2 separate regions of the Homo sapiens genome follow, and region 2 is linked to region 1. The links are contacts of gene promoters, found by promoter capture Hi-C in human tissues and cell types (Jung and others, 2019). All regions are on one chromosome and are shown on one strand. The core of a region is centred on a gene start or on the middle of the fragment in contact, and the rest is flanking DNA. Distances in the headings are between cores, read along the strand shown. Region 1 holds the start of SLC10A7 (solute carrier family 10 member 7). Region 2 has its middle 160 kb from the start of TTC29.

Region 1 (6,134 bases), core at 1,941-4,440:
AGGTGGAGGCTGGAGTTATATTGCCACAAGCCAAGGAACGGCTGGCAACCACCACAAGCTAGAAGACTCAAAGGATTCTTTCCCAGATGTCCTTTGGAGGACATCTTGACCTCAGACTTCTGGCTTCTAGAACTGTGAGATAATAAATTTCTGTTGTACTGAGCCACCTGGTTCATGGTAATTTGTTGTGGCAGCCCTAAGAAACTAATACACTCACTTAAGCAAAACAACAGGACAACAATCACGGCTCCTCCATAGCCTGAAACCCTCCACTTGTTCGATATATGGACAGAAGACCAAGCTCAGGAAAAATCACCATATATATATATATATATATATATATATATATATATATATATATATAATATAATATATAATTAATATATATTATGTATATAACATAATATATAATATATGATACAATAATGTACATAATATATAATATACATAATATCTCAAGGCCCCTCTGAGAGAGAATATATATTATATATAATAATATATTTTATATAATATATAACATATTATATACAATATATAACATAATATATAATATGATAATATATAATACATTATTTAACATAATATATAATATTATCTATATATAGAGAGAGATGACCTACTATGTCTTAGGCATTTGTAGTACAACAATGAATAAAAGAAACAAAGATTTCCTCAAATGCTGTAATAAATTATTTAATATGCCTGGCATTTACACAAATCATTTTGCTGAGATCTAAGAAAAGGGAAAGAAAGGGAGAAGGCAAGTGCAAAAGGCATTGCATTTGGGGGCAGTGAAGGCTGCTCAAAAACTTTTATAAGAGGTACATTATCTTTATATTTGTTAGTGAATCTGTCTCAGCAGCTCACACAGGTAATATTTCTTCAGCAGCTAAGCAAGGTGATTCAGGAGCAGATTTTAAAGTCAAGGAATCTGGCTTGCTTGGGAAGTAGAAGTTTCCCAGGAATTTTAAATACCCTGGTCTCCAATAGTTCCTCTTCCCTAAGCTAGCTACCTTAACCTAGAGAGAGTCACCTGGTATCTTCAACTGTAAAAGAAGCATGTTGGCTTAAAACACTTTAAATATTCCCCTCCCCCTCTTAACATTCTATTATAATTAAACAAAGGAATGAATTATCCTACATTAAAGACAGAAGGACTAGTGGAAATGGGAAATGGCATTTCTATGATACAATAATGTACCAAAATATTAATAAGCAGAGTCTATGGAACACATAAGTTTGCAGAATCTATCTCATACATGCCACTGCAGAAAAGCCCCACGGAAATGATTCAGCATTCAACACCTTTCTTCCCACAGAATATTTAGGAATGCAAGGTAAAAGATATTTTGCCAAACTTAGCCCCTGCAGATTTAAAGTTAAAGATCATACATCCTCTGTAATTTCATCTCAAAACTGAGCAAATAAGAGATCTAACACGAGAAGCGATAGCTAGTGAAGTGTGCATTGCAGATCATGCAAAGGTACTCTAAGTCTTACTATTCATTTAGCTCCGGGGATAGGGGGTCTTCATTTGACAGACCTGATCTTCACAAGAGTTTCCCAAAAGTTCACAGAGCAGCAGTGTTAAAGAAGAAACTATTACCATCAATCAGAGGGAGAAACCACCAGGAATAACTGCTTTATTCTCACAGTTACATATTCTACACATTTTGTTCTAAGTTGAATACAGAAGAACAAAATTTTAAAACAAACAATCCTTCATCTCCACAATTTTGGTTTAAATAATTCCTTTTAAAATGTTCCCGGAAGCTACTTCTAAACAGAGTAATGGGGTGGAGGTTAAGGGGAGAAGGGACCACTGCTGTTCTCCTAAGAGATCATTTCATTCACTTCCATCATGTTTTAACAAAAAGATAAAAATAACTTCAAATATCCTCCTGAGCGCTTCCTACTATGAAATATTGTGCCTGTTCACCTCTATCCTTATTTGCTCCGGTTGCATGAGTTAGGTATTAAACCTGTCAATAAGCTTGGAAACTGACAAACAAGGTCAAAAAGACAAGCGAATTGAATAAATTCAATTAATGTTTATGAAAAGTAGTACAAGATTGTCTAAAGGTGTTGGGGGGGGCATAAAAAACTAATATTTCTAATGTTCCCACCAGTGCCCATCATCTCCTGTACAAAGCTCCCACTATTCAGAGATCTAAGTATGCTTTCAGTCCATCCACATTTCCTTGCCAAAACACACACTACACTACACTACACATAGTCTAACAGTCTGTATCTGTTAGACTGCTAGTATAGCAACTGAATCCCGGCAGCACACGGAAGTATGCTGTAATGAAGTGTCCTGTAATCAAAGAGTGCAACGTGTCAGTCGGCTTGGGAGTTTCTGGAGCACCAGCAACTACAGCAAATCATCACTCTCCAACATGTGGGCCATAAAATCTGAGTTGGGGGCGGAGGTGTCCCTTTTCTTGTTTTTCCTCCACTTTTTTTTTTAATGTGGGGGCGGGGAGGACTCGAAAGTAGACTCGATAATGAGGTCCACTCCAAGATAGATACGGAACTCTTAGCAACCTAGATTCCCTTGGGATAGGATGCTACTTTGAAGGCAAGAGGAGTAAGTTTCATTCTCTGTAACCTCACTTCTTGACACTCAGGATAGTCATTGTTTGTCTACGGAAAAGGCTACCTGCCCTCAAATTCCTTTGCCTCGTTCCTAATTACAAGTTCCCTCTGGGGTTGGTAAATTAGAAAATCAGCAAAAGGGCCAAAGGCTGGTCAGTGCCCCCTGAAATTGGCAAGCGCTTGCAATGAGGGTTGCCCCACCTTTCCAAGACTCACAAATTAGTTCTGAAGTGGGAGCCGCGGTGGAGCCGGCAGAGGTGCAGCACTTACCCCCATTCACCCCTATGGACGGCTCCAGTTTAGCTCCAGCGATCGCCAGCACTATTCCGACCATGAACCAGTCTTTCCTCATTCTCTCCAGCAGCCTCATATTTGTTAGGGTGGGTGGGTTTTGTTTATTTGTTTGGCTTTTTTTCTTTTCAAGCTCCGATCACCTAATCCTTGGAGCGTCTCCACACTTTCCTTGGTCCCTCCAGACATGCAGCAGAGCAAGTCAAATTGCCGATTGTAAAGTAAAGACCTGGGGGTTGCTCCGGCGGCTTTGAGGAGGGTTGGGAGTAGTAGTAGCCAGTGACAGGAAAGTCTCACTGAGCGCCGCCATCACTACCACGCGCCTCAGAATACACGCGCACAAACGCCCCCAGCGCCTCTGGCCGCGGGCTCGCAGGTGCAGATGCTTTGAAATGAAGAACTCGGACCAGGCCGACAACGTGGGCGATCCGGCAAGGGAGGCTGGCCGCCGGATGGGGCTGACAAGCGCACCGCTGTCGAGACCTGCGGAACCTTCTGAATGACGAGGGGTCGGGGAGAGCGTCGTAAGGCGCCACAGCCAGCAAGCCTCACTGACTGTCCTTTTCTAACAAACCTTTAGGCACAGCCACCCACCCTTCTGGAGCATATCTCCATGGAGAGCCTCTCTTTTGCTGTGCCATGACTCCGCGGGCAGGGCTGACGTGTGCTTGGGGCAAGGGATTTCTCCGTTGAAGCTGCGGCAGCGGGGTGCAAGTTTGGAGACGCGCTTCTTCGGGACATTACGGCGCTTCCACGACGCTAGCGCTGACGTATGCGCGGGGGGGAGGGGAGGCCACTCTGGATCTCCGAGTTCCCAGCCTGAGCTGCCGGAGTTAGAGGTGTCCGCGCGGGAAAGTGGCTCGCTGGTGGGCGGGGAGCCTTATCTCTGGCGGTGGGTTGAAAATCCGGCGCCGGGCAGATGCCCACGTTCGCTGGACCCCTGCTTGCCGGCGTCCGCTACAACCCAAGGAAGGTGGGCCCGACCTCGCCAGGTCGCTCGCCTGCGGGTGGGCATTTGGTCCGGATCCCCTTCCCTCTGCGGCCCACACCTGTCTCCGGGACTGGGGAGGGCTGCAGGGATCGGGGCAGATCTGCCTTTGCGGGCCGAGAGTGACAGCTGAAGTCTCCCCACCAACTAAGCTACTCGCGGGCGGAGTGGGGTCTGCGCTGGCAAGCCCCTGGGCGCGCGGGTGCCCGCTCTGGCTCGCCCCCAGGGCTGACCTACCCAAGCCACAGGAAAACTCTGGGAAGAGGGTCGCGGATTCCAACGCGGAAGTGGTGGGGGATTGAGTCTGAGAGGTTGGGGAGTCCTACCTTCCATTGCCACGAGTGCTAGTTCTATCTGCCAGTTTCTTCCTTGAAATGTCTTGTGGCAACCAGTGACATTGATGGTTTCATGAATGGACTTCCTACCGGTAGACCCTGCAAGAGCATGAACTCCACTGTATCATTCATCCAAATGAAGAAAGAAAGAAAATAGTATGTGATATTTTGAAATAACCTGGCATCTGCCACTTAAATGGTTAAAAATAGAACTTAAGGTTTGGAAGAGATTGTTTCGTGATGACAGACTTTAATTCTGAATTTATTCAAAGCTGGAAAGACACTCGTCGTGTCATTTCCTCTATTTAATTTAGCTTTATCTTGATGGCAAGACTTCCAGAAACTAAGCCACTTTAAGAGTTGTGCTCCCAGTTGTAGGTTACACAGTACCAAGTGTCATCTAATTATACATCAGGCAACATGAAAAAAAATTAATTTCAAGATAAAAAGAACTTAACAGGGAGACATAGATGACATTAAGCAGTTTACTCTGAAAAGAGACAGGTACATGAAATATAAAATTTGATGTTAGTTGTCAGGCAGTCAGAAGATAAGTGAAGATAAATGAAAGATAGTTTACAACATAATTATTTTCTTATAGTAATTTCTTAGTAGGTTAAAGAGTCATACGTCTCAGTCATTGAAGGGATAGTTTTGTATTAAAACATCATTAAACATTAAGTTTACAGAAATTGAGCTGTTTTAACTGTACAGCTATTCACAAATTATTTACTAATACCTCTTTGATCTGTGTAGAGCAGAATCTAACTCAGAGATTTTTTTGTTCTGTTTTTAATGGTACTTAAAGGAAAAGAATATAATGTACCATGAATTATATTCTCTTAAGGCCTGTATTTGTTTGCTGTGGATGCTGAAACAAATACTCGAACTTGGATGCCTTCAAACAACAGAAATTTATTATCTCACAGTTCTGGAGGACAGAAGTCCAAAATCAAGATTTTGGCAGAGCCATACTCCCGCTGAAGGCTCTAGGGGAGAGTCCTTCCTTGCCTTTTCTAGTTTCTGGTGGTGCCTTCCTTGGCTTGTAGCTAGAGTGTTCCAATCTCTGCCACTGTTTTCACATCACATTCCCCTCTGTATTTCTTTCTAGTGGCCACATTATTCTAGTTTCTGCATCCATCTTCACGTTGCACCTCCTTTTCTGTGTATCTTTTATAAAGACACTTGTCATTGGATTTAGGGCCTACCCAGATAATCCAAAATGATCTCTCAAGAGCCTTAACTCAATCACAGTAGTCCCCCCTTATCCTGAAAGGATACATTCCAAGAACCTTAGGTAGATGCCTGAAACTGCTGGTTGTACTGAACCCTATCTATATATGCTATGGTATTTTTTCTTATACATACATTCCTATGATGATAATTTTTGGTTTATATTATTAGGCACAATAAGAGATGAACAATAATTAATACAGTCAGGCATTGCTTAACCACCGGGTTACATTCTGAGAAATGTATGGTTAGACGATTTCATCATTAGAGAAACATCATAGAGTGTACTTACACAAACCTAAATAATGTAGTGTACAACACACCTAGACTATATGGTATAGCCTATTGTTCCTAGGCTGCAAACCTATACAGCATGTTACTATACTGAATACTGTAGGCAGTTGCAACACAGTGGTATTTGTGTATCTAAACATATCTAAACATAGAAAAATTACAGTATAAGAGGTTTTTTTTTTTAATGGAGTCAGGAGTAGTGGTGTGTGCCTCTAGTCCCAGCTACTTCGAGAGGGTGAGACGGGAGACTCACTTGAATCCAGGAGTTTGAGGCCAGTCTGAGTAACATAACAAGATTCCATTCCTTTAAAAAAAAAATCGTGGTATACCTGTATAGAGCACTTACTATGAATGGAGCTTGTAGGACTGGAAGTTGTTCTGGGTGGGTCAGTGAG
Region 2 (6,134 bases), core at 1,942-4,441, 590 kb after region 1:
CTGATCTTTGAGAAGGTTGACAAAAACAAGCAATAGAAAAACAACCAAAACAAAAATAGAAAAAATGCCCTATTCAATAAATGGTGCTGGGGTAACTGGCTAGCCATATGCAAAAGATTGAAACTAGGGCCCTTCCTTATGCCATATACAAAAATTAACTCAAGATGGATTAAACCTTATATGTAAAACCCCCAAAAAACAAAAATCCTGAAAGACAACCTAGGCAGTGCCATCCTGGACAAAGATTTCATGACAAAGACAACAAAAGCTTTTGCAACAAAAGCAAAAATTGACAAATTGGATGTAATTAAACTAAAGAGCTTCTGCACAGCAAAAGAAACTATCAACAGTGTAAACAGACAAGCTACAGAACGGGAGAAAATATTTGCAAACTATGCATCTGACAAAGGTCTAATATCCAGCATCTATAATGAACTTAAATACACTTACAAGAGAAAAAACAAACAACTGCATTCAAAAGTGGGCCAAGAACATAAACAGATACTTTTCAAAAGAAGACATACATGTGGCCAACAAGCATATGAAAAAATGTTCGACATCACTGATCACTAGAGAAATGCAAATCAAAACAATGAGATGCCATCTCACACCAGTCAGAATGGCTATTATTAAAAAGTCAAAAAAGTAACAGATGCTGGCGAGGTTGTGGAAAAAAAGGAATGCTTATACACTGTTGGTGGGAGGATAAATTAGTTCAACCACTGTGGAAAGCAGTGTGGCGATTCCTCAAAGGGCTAAAAACTGAACTAACATTTGACCCAGCAATCCCATTACTGGGTATATATCTGAAGGAATATAGATCATTCTACCATAAAGACACATGCACATGAATGTTCACTGTAGCACTATTTACAATAGCAAAGACATGGAATCAACCTAAATGCCCACCAATAAAAGATTAGATAAAGGAAATGTGGTACATATACACCATGAACTACTACGGAGCCATAAAAAAGAATGAGATCAAGTCCTTTGCAGGGACGTGGATGGAGCTAGAGGCCATTTTCCTTAGAAAACTAATGCAGGAGCCGAAAATGAAATACCGCATGTTCTCACTTATAAGTGGGAGCTAAATGACAAGAACACATGGACACAAAGAGGGAAACAACAGACACTCGGGCCTACCAGAGGTTGGAGGGTCGGAGGAGGAAGAGGACCAGGAAAGATAAGTAATGGGTACTAGGCTTAACACTGGGATGGGGAAATAATCTGTACAACAAACCCCCACGACATGAGTTTACCTACATAACAAACCTGAATATGTACCCCTGGACTTAAAATAAAAGTTAAAAAAAAAAAAAAAGGAATTCCTCAGTCTCACTCCCCACAGCCTGGATTTCAAAACCTTTGGCTTGTTTAAGAAGTTAAGAAAATCAGCTTTGAGATTCAATGCCTCTCTGGGCCATTGATTCCTAAAGAGAGTAGCATATCCCACTAGGAGGTATTTTTGGAAAGCTGTGGGGTTACTTTTGGTTAAGATTTAGAGGGTAGGGGCTATTGGTATTTAGTAGATGGGGGTCCAGAATTATCAACATGGTGTAATGAAGGAGACAGTCCCACAATGAAAAATCATTCCATCCCAAGTTTGTGTAGGCCAAAAAATCTGATTATAACTTTTTTAGCTTAGAACCTTAACTCTAATGGTGCTTCTGTATGGTTTAAATATAAACGATACATTTAGTTTGTATAAACCAATATAAAATTCCCAGTAATGCACCTACCACATATGTGAGGGAATATCACTATGCCTTGTTTGATATATTACCAAGGGTTTTTTCCTATTTGAAAAAGTCACCAAGGTTCTACTTTTTGTTGAGTCACATAGCTGGATAGCTCTGCATGGCTAGTTGCCATACTCAGGATGACTGTGGAAGCACAAGTATTTTGTCTTCTGGTGTCATTTGTATCCAAGCATTATGTTGAAATGCTTATTAGTTCACCATTTGCCAATTATCATGAAATGCATATTATGATTTCACCATTTGCCAATTTCCTCTATTTCTCCTTTATGTTATAATTAGAGCACTCTAATGTGCTCGAATTTAAATAATGTAGTATCTTGTGTTAGCTCTAAAATTTCTTTCTAAGATAGTAAAGGGAAAAGAAAATATAAAACTATTTGTTGGGGGAGAAAGGATTTGGGGAAACATTGGTCAACAGACACAAAATTTCCAGTTACACAGGAGGAATGAGTTCAAGAGACCTATTGAACATCATGGTGTCTATAGTTAATAACAATATATTGTATACTTGAAAATTGCAAGAAGACTTCAAGCACTTACCACAAAAAATACATATGTGATGTCATGCATATGTTAAAGAGCCTGATTTAGCCATTCCACAATGTGCACATTTATCAAAACATCATGCTAGATACCATAGGTATACACAATTTTTGTCAAGTAAAAATATATAAATAAATATTTGTTATGTAGGGTTGGAATCAGATAAGGTTAAGAGCCTCTGTTCTATGCAGTTCCTATTTTTCCACTTTCCATATTGAGTGCTTCCTGTGTGCCAGATACTAAGTATTTCCCATACTTGCTCTCCTTCACTCTTCCCAACCTTCTATCGATGACATAAAACTACATAATTTTATATTGTTTATATAAACTAAAGCTTAAAGAATCTAAGTAAACCAGTAAGTGGAAAAATCCAAGATTCAAGTTCAAGTCCACCTAGCTGCAAGGCCTGGCATCTTAACCATTCCACTTTTTTAACTAATGTAGAAAAAGGTCATCTTTTAAAAATATTACTACCATATTTCTATGTATATAGTTTAATAACCTAGTTATTGAAGATATTTATCTAGCAATTAAAAGGAGCAGCAACTAAGCACTAGAGCCTTTTGTTTTAATGTACCCTTTGTGTAGTTTTTAATAAACTCTGTTACCTAATTGCCTTACTTAGCATATCTCTGTGCTATTAAAACTTCTTTAATGTTTTATGTGGAAAAAATACTAATCCTTAAAATGTAAGTTATTAGCTAAGAATTTTTAAATACAGTATTTCTCCAGAGTCCTTCATCCAGAAAATCCTAAGTACTTTAGCAACACTAGTCATATATGGAAAATAGTCCCACTCTCTAATTATAAAAAATGACAATGAGTACATTTCCATCCAAGCTGTTACCTCAGAGAGGAGTCAGATCACAGAACACCTAAAAAGTGCAATAGACTCATCCAGTTTCAGAGAAGGGTTTTGCTCAGCAGCCATTGTGCATCTAGGTCAACAGAGAATGTCAGCTGATACAAATCAGGACAATGATGAGTGCCTGTAATATGACCACCACTTTACATGTATTATTAGGTTGGTGCAAAAGTTACTGAGATGTTTGTCATTGAAATAATGGCAAGCCAAGCATGGTAACTCACGCCTGTAATCCTAGCACTTTGGAAGGCTGAGGCAGGTGCATCACCTGAGGTCAGGAGTTCAAGACCAGCCTGGCCAACATGGTGAAACCCCGTCTCTACTAAAAATATAAAAATTAGCCGGGCATGGTGGCAGGCGCCTGTAATCCCAGCTACTCTGGAGGCTGAGACAGGAGAATTGCCTGAACCCAAGAGGTGGAGGTTGCAGTGAGTGAGATGGTGCCATTGCACTCCAGTCTGGGCAACAAGAGTGAAACTCCATCAAAAAGAGAGAGAGAGAAGGAAGGAAGGGAGTAAGGGAGGAAGAGAGGAAGAAAGGAAGAAAGGAAGAGAAAAAAACGCAATTACTTTTGCACCAACCTAATATTTTTTTATTAACCCATGAGTTAAGTATTATCGCCTTTATTCTTTATTATACAGAAGGACAACTGAGGGCTCCAAGAGGTTTAAGTGACTTAAGAGACTCCAACCACAGAGTGTGCAAGCTGGGATTTGAGCCCGGCATGTTCTATTATGCTAATCTACTCAACTTCATGTGTGTGGGGATTTGAGGCAGTTACAGCGAGTCATATTACGACTGAGGGGAGTTTTGGTGCGGGCTATGGATTAAACCTCCAGTTAAGTCTTGCTTACACCTAGGAAGTCTAATATCCAGTGAATGTTCCCAACTGTCTCTAACACATAAGGATTTCGCTGGATTTGGGCAGTTAACATGCCACTTCAAGGATGAGAATGTTTCTTGGGAAATCCAACAGTGACAGGAAAGCTTGAGTACACTCTTTAATAGCATGCAAATGATGGGGCTGGAAATTCCCAGAACCGTTTTCCACTGTCCTGCACTCTCTCTATTTTTGGTATTGCTATTCAATAGCTCTCATGTCCTAGGAAAATCATATCACTGCTGAGAAACTCTTTCTTTAAAGGCATCTATAACTTCCATGCTCTCATCATCTTCTTTCATTTGTTTTGGGACAGAACTTTAGAAAGTTAAATTGAAAATTTAAAAACTAAATATAAAAGCAGCAGCCACTGGGTGTCACTGATTTACCACTTGAATGTACCTCATCCCACATATCTATAGCAGGAAAAAACCTGGCCTTTTTATTGGACTATTTCAAAGCACTTTATGTTCTTGAGTGCTATAGATAAGCAGAAGAATTTAAAATGTTTAAAACATGAATCTTCTGACACTGAGAAGCTCAAGGACCATTACTGTATGCTCTGTTACAGCTATTTATAACTGTAAGTAATAATATTCCCATTTTAGAGATGGATACACTAAAGCAGAGCAAGCTAGTAAATCGAGGATGGCAGAGGACACACTCTTGAACTTTATTATTTAAATCAGGACTTTCTGGCCAGGTGCAGTGGCTCACGCCTATAATCCTGGCACTTTGGGAGGCCGAGGCAGGTGCACCACCTGAGTTCAGGAGTTCAAGACCAGCCTGGCCAATACGGTAAAAACCCATCTCTACCAAAAATACAAAAATTATCCGGGTGTGATAGTGTGCATCTATAATCCCAGCTGCTCGGGAGGCTGAGGCAGGAAAATCGCTTGAACCTGGAAGGCAGAGGTTACAGTGAGCCGAGATTGCCCCACTGCACTCCAACCTGGGCAACAAGAGCAAAACTTCATCTCAAACATAAAAGAAATAAAAATAAATCAGGACTTTCATGTTGTATTTTTATTTAAAGATAATTCTCTAAAGCCAGGAACACAGTACCCATTATTTCATTCTTGCTCATATCCCGCCCCCCCCCCACCAATTCTATATCTAAGATGAAGAAAAAGAAATCATTTCAGAACATTTCCAAAAGAATGTCAGGATTCACCTCCTTTCCAAGGTGGCCAAATAGGAACAGCTTTGGTCTGCAGCTCCCAGCGTGATCAACATAGAAGATGGGTGATTTCTGCATTTCCAACTGAGATACCTGGTTCATCTTATTGGGACTGGTTGGACAGTGGGTGCATCCCATAGAGGGTGAGCCAAAGCAGGGTGGGGTGTCGCCTCACCCGGGAAGTGCAAGGGATCTGGGGATTTCCCTTTCCTAGCCAAGGGAAGCCATGACAGACTGTACTTGGAAAAACAGGACAATTTCACCCAAATACTACACTTTTCCCAAGGTCTTAGCAACCAGCAGACAAGGAGATTCTCTCCCGTTCCTGGCTCAGTGGGTCCCACACCCACGGAGCCTTGCTCACTGCTAGCACAGCAGTCTGAGATTGAACTGTGAGGCGGCAGCCTGGCTGGGGGAGGGACATCTGCCATTGCTGAGGTTTGAGTAGGTGAACGAAGCAGCCAGGAAGCTTGAACAGGGTGGAGCCCACCGCAGTTCAGCAAGGCCTACTGCCTCTATAGACTCCACCTCTGTGGGTAGGGCATAGCTGAACAAAAGGCAGTAGACTTCTGCAGACTTAAACCTCCCTGACAGCTCTGAAAAGAGCAGTGGTTCTCCCAGCACGGTGTTTGATCTCTGAGAACAGACAGACTGCCTCCTCAAGTGGATCCCCGACCCCTGTGTAGCATAACTGGGAGACACCTCCCAGTAGGGGCCGACAGACACCTCATATAGGCGGGTGACCCTCTGGGATGAAGCTTCCAGAGGAAGGATCAGGCAGCAATATTTACTGTTCTGCAACATTTGCTGTTCTTCAGCCTCCATTGGTGATACCCAGGCAAACAGGGTCTGGAGCAGACCTCCAGCAAACTCCAACAGACCTGCAGCTGAGGGATCTGACTG

Evidence for each region. The method cuts DNA at HindIII sites, captures the fragments that hold promoters and counts their contacts. A contact is called where the count stands out against the background at its distance.
Region 2: a contact is called between a fragment that was not itself captured here and the fragment with the promoter of SLC10A7 in region 1, in 1 of the 25 tissues and cell types used here (H1 embryonic stem cells).

The regions. Positions count from the first base shown.
Region 1 is chr4:146,518,750-146,524,883 of GRCh38, forward strand. SLC10A7 (solute carrier family 10 member 7) reads right to left here and starts at 3,191. Exons shown (of 12, transcript NM_001029998.6): 1 at 2,869-3,191. The coding sequence starts at 2,968. RefSeq lists enhancers at 2,319-2,548, 2,989-3,058, 3,279-3,358, 3,369-3,788, 3,959-4,038. The HindIII fragment of the contact is 10,684 bases long and covers 550-6,134 here.
Region 2 is chr4:147,106,730-147,112,863 of GRCh38, forward strand. No RefSeq gene overlaps it. Among named protein-coding and RNA genes, the nearest start is that of TTC29, 160 kb to the left of the region's middle. The HindIII fragment of the contact is 3,475 bases long and covers 1,455-4,929 here.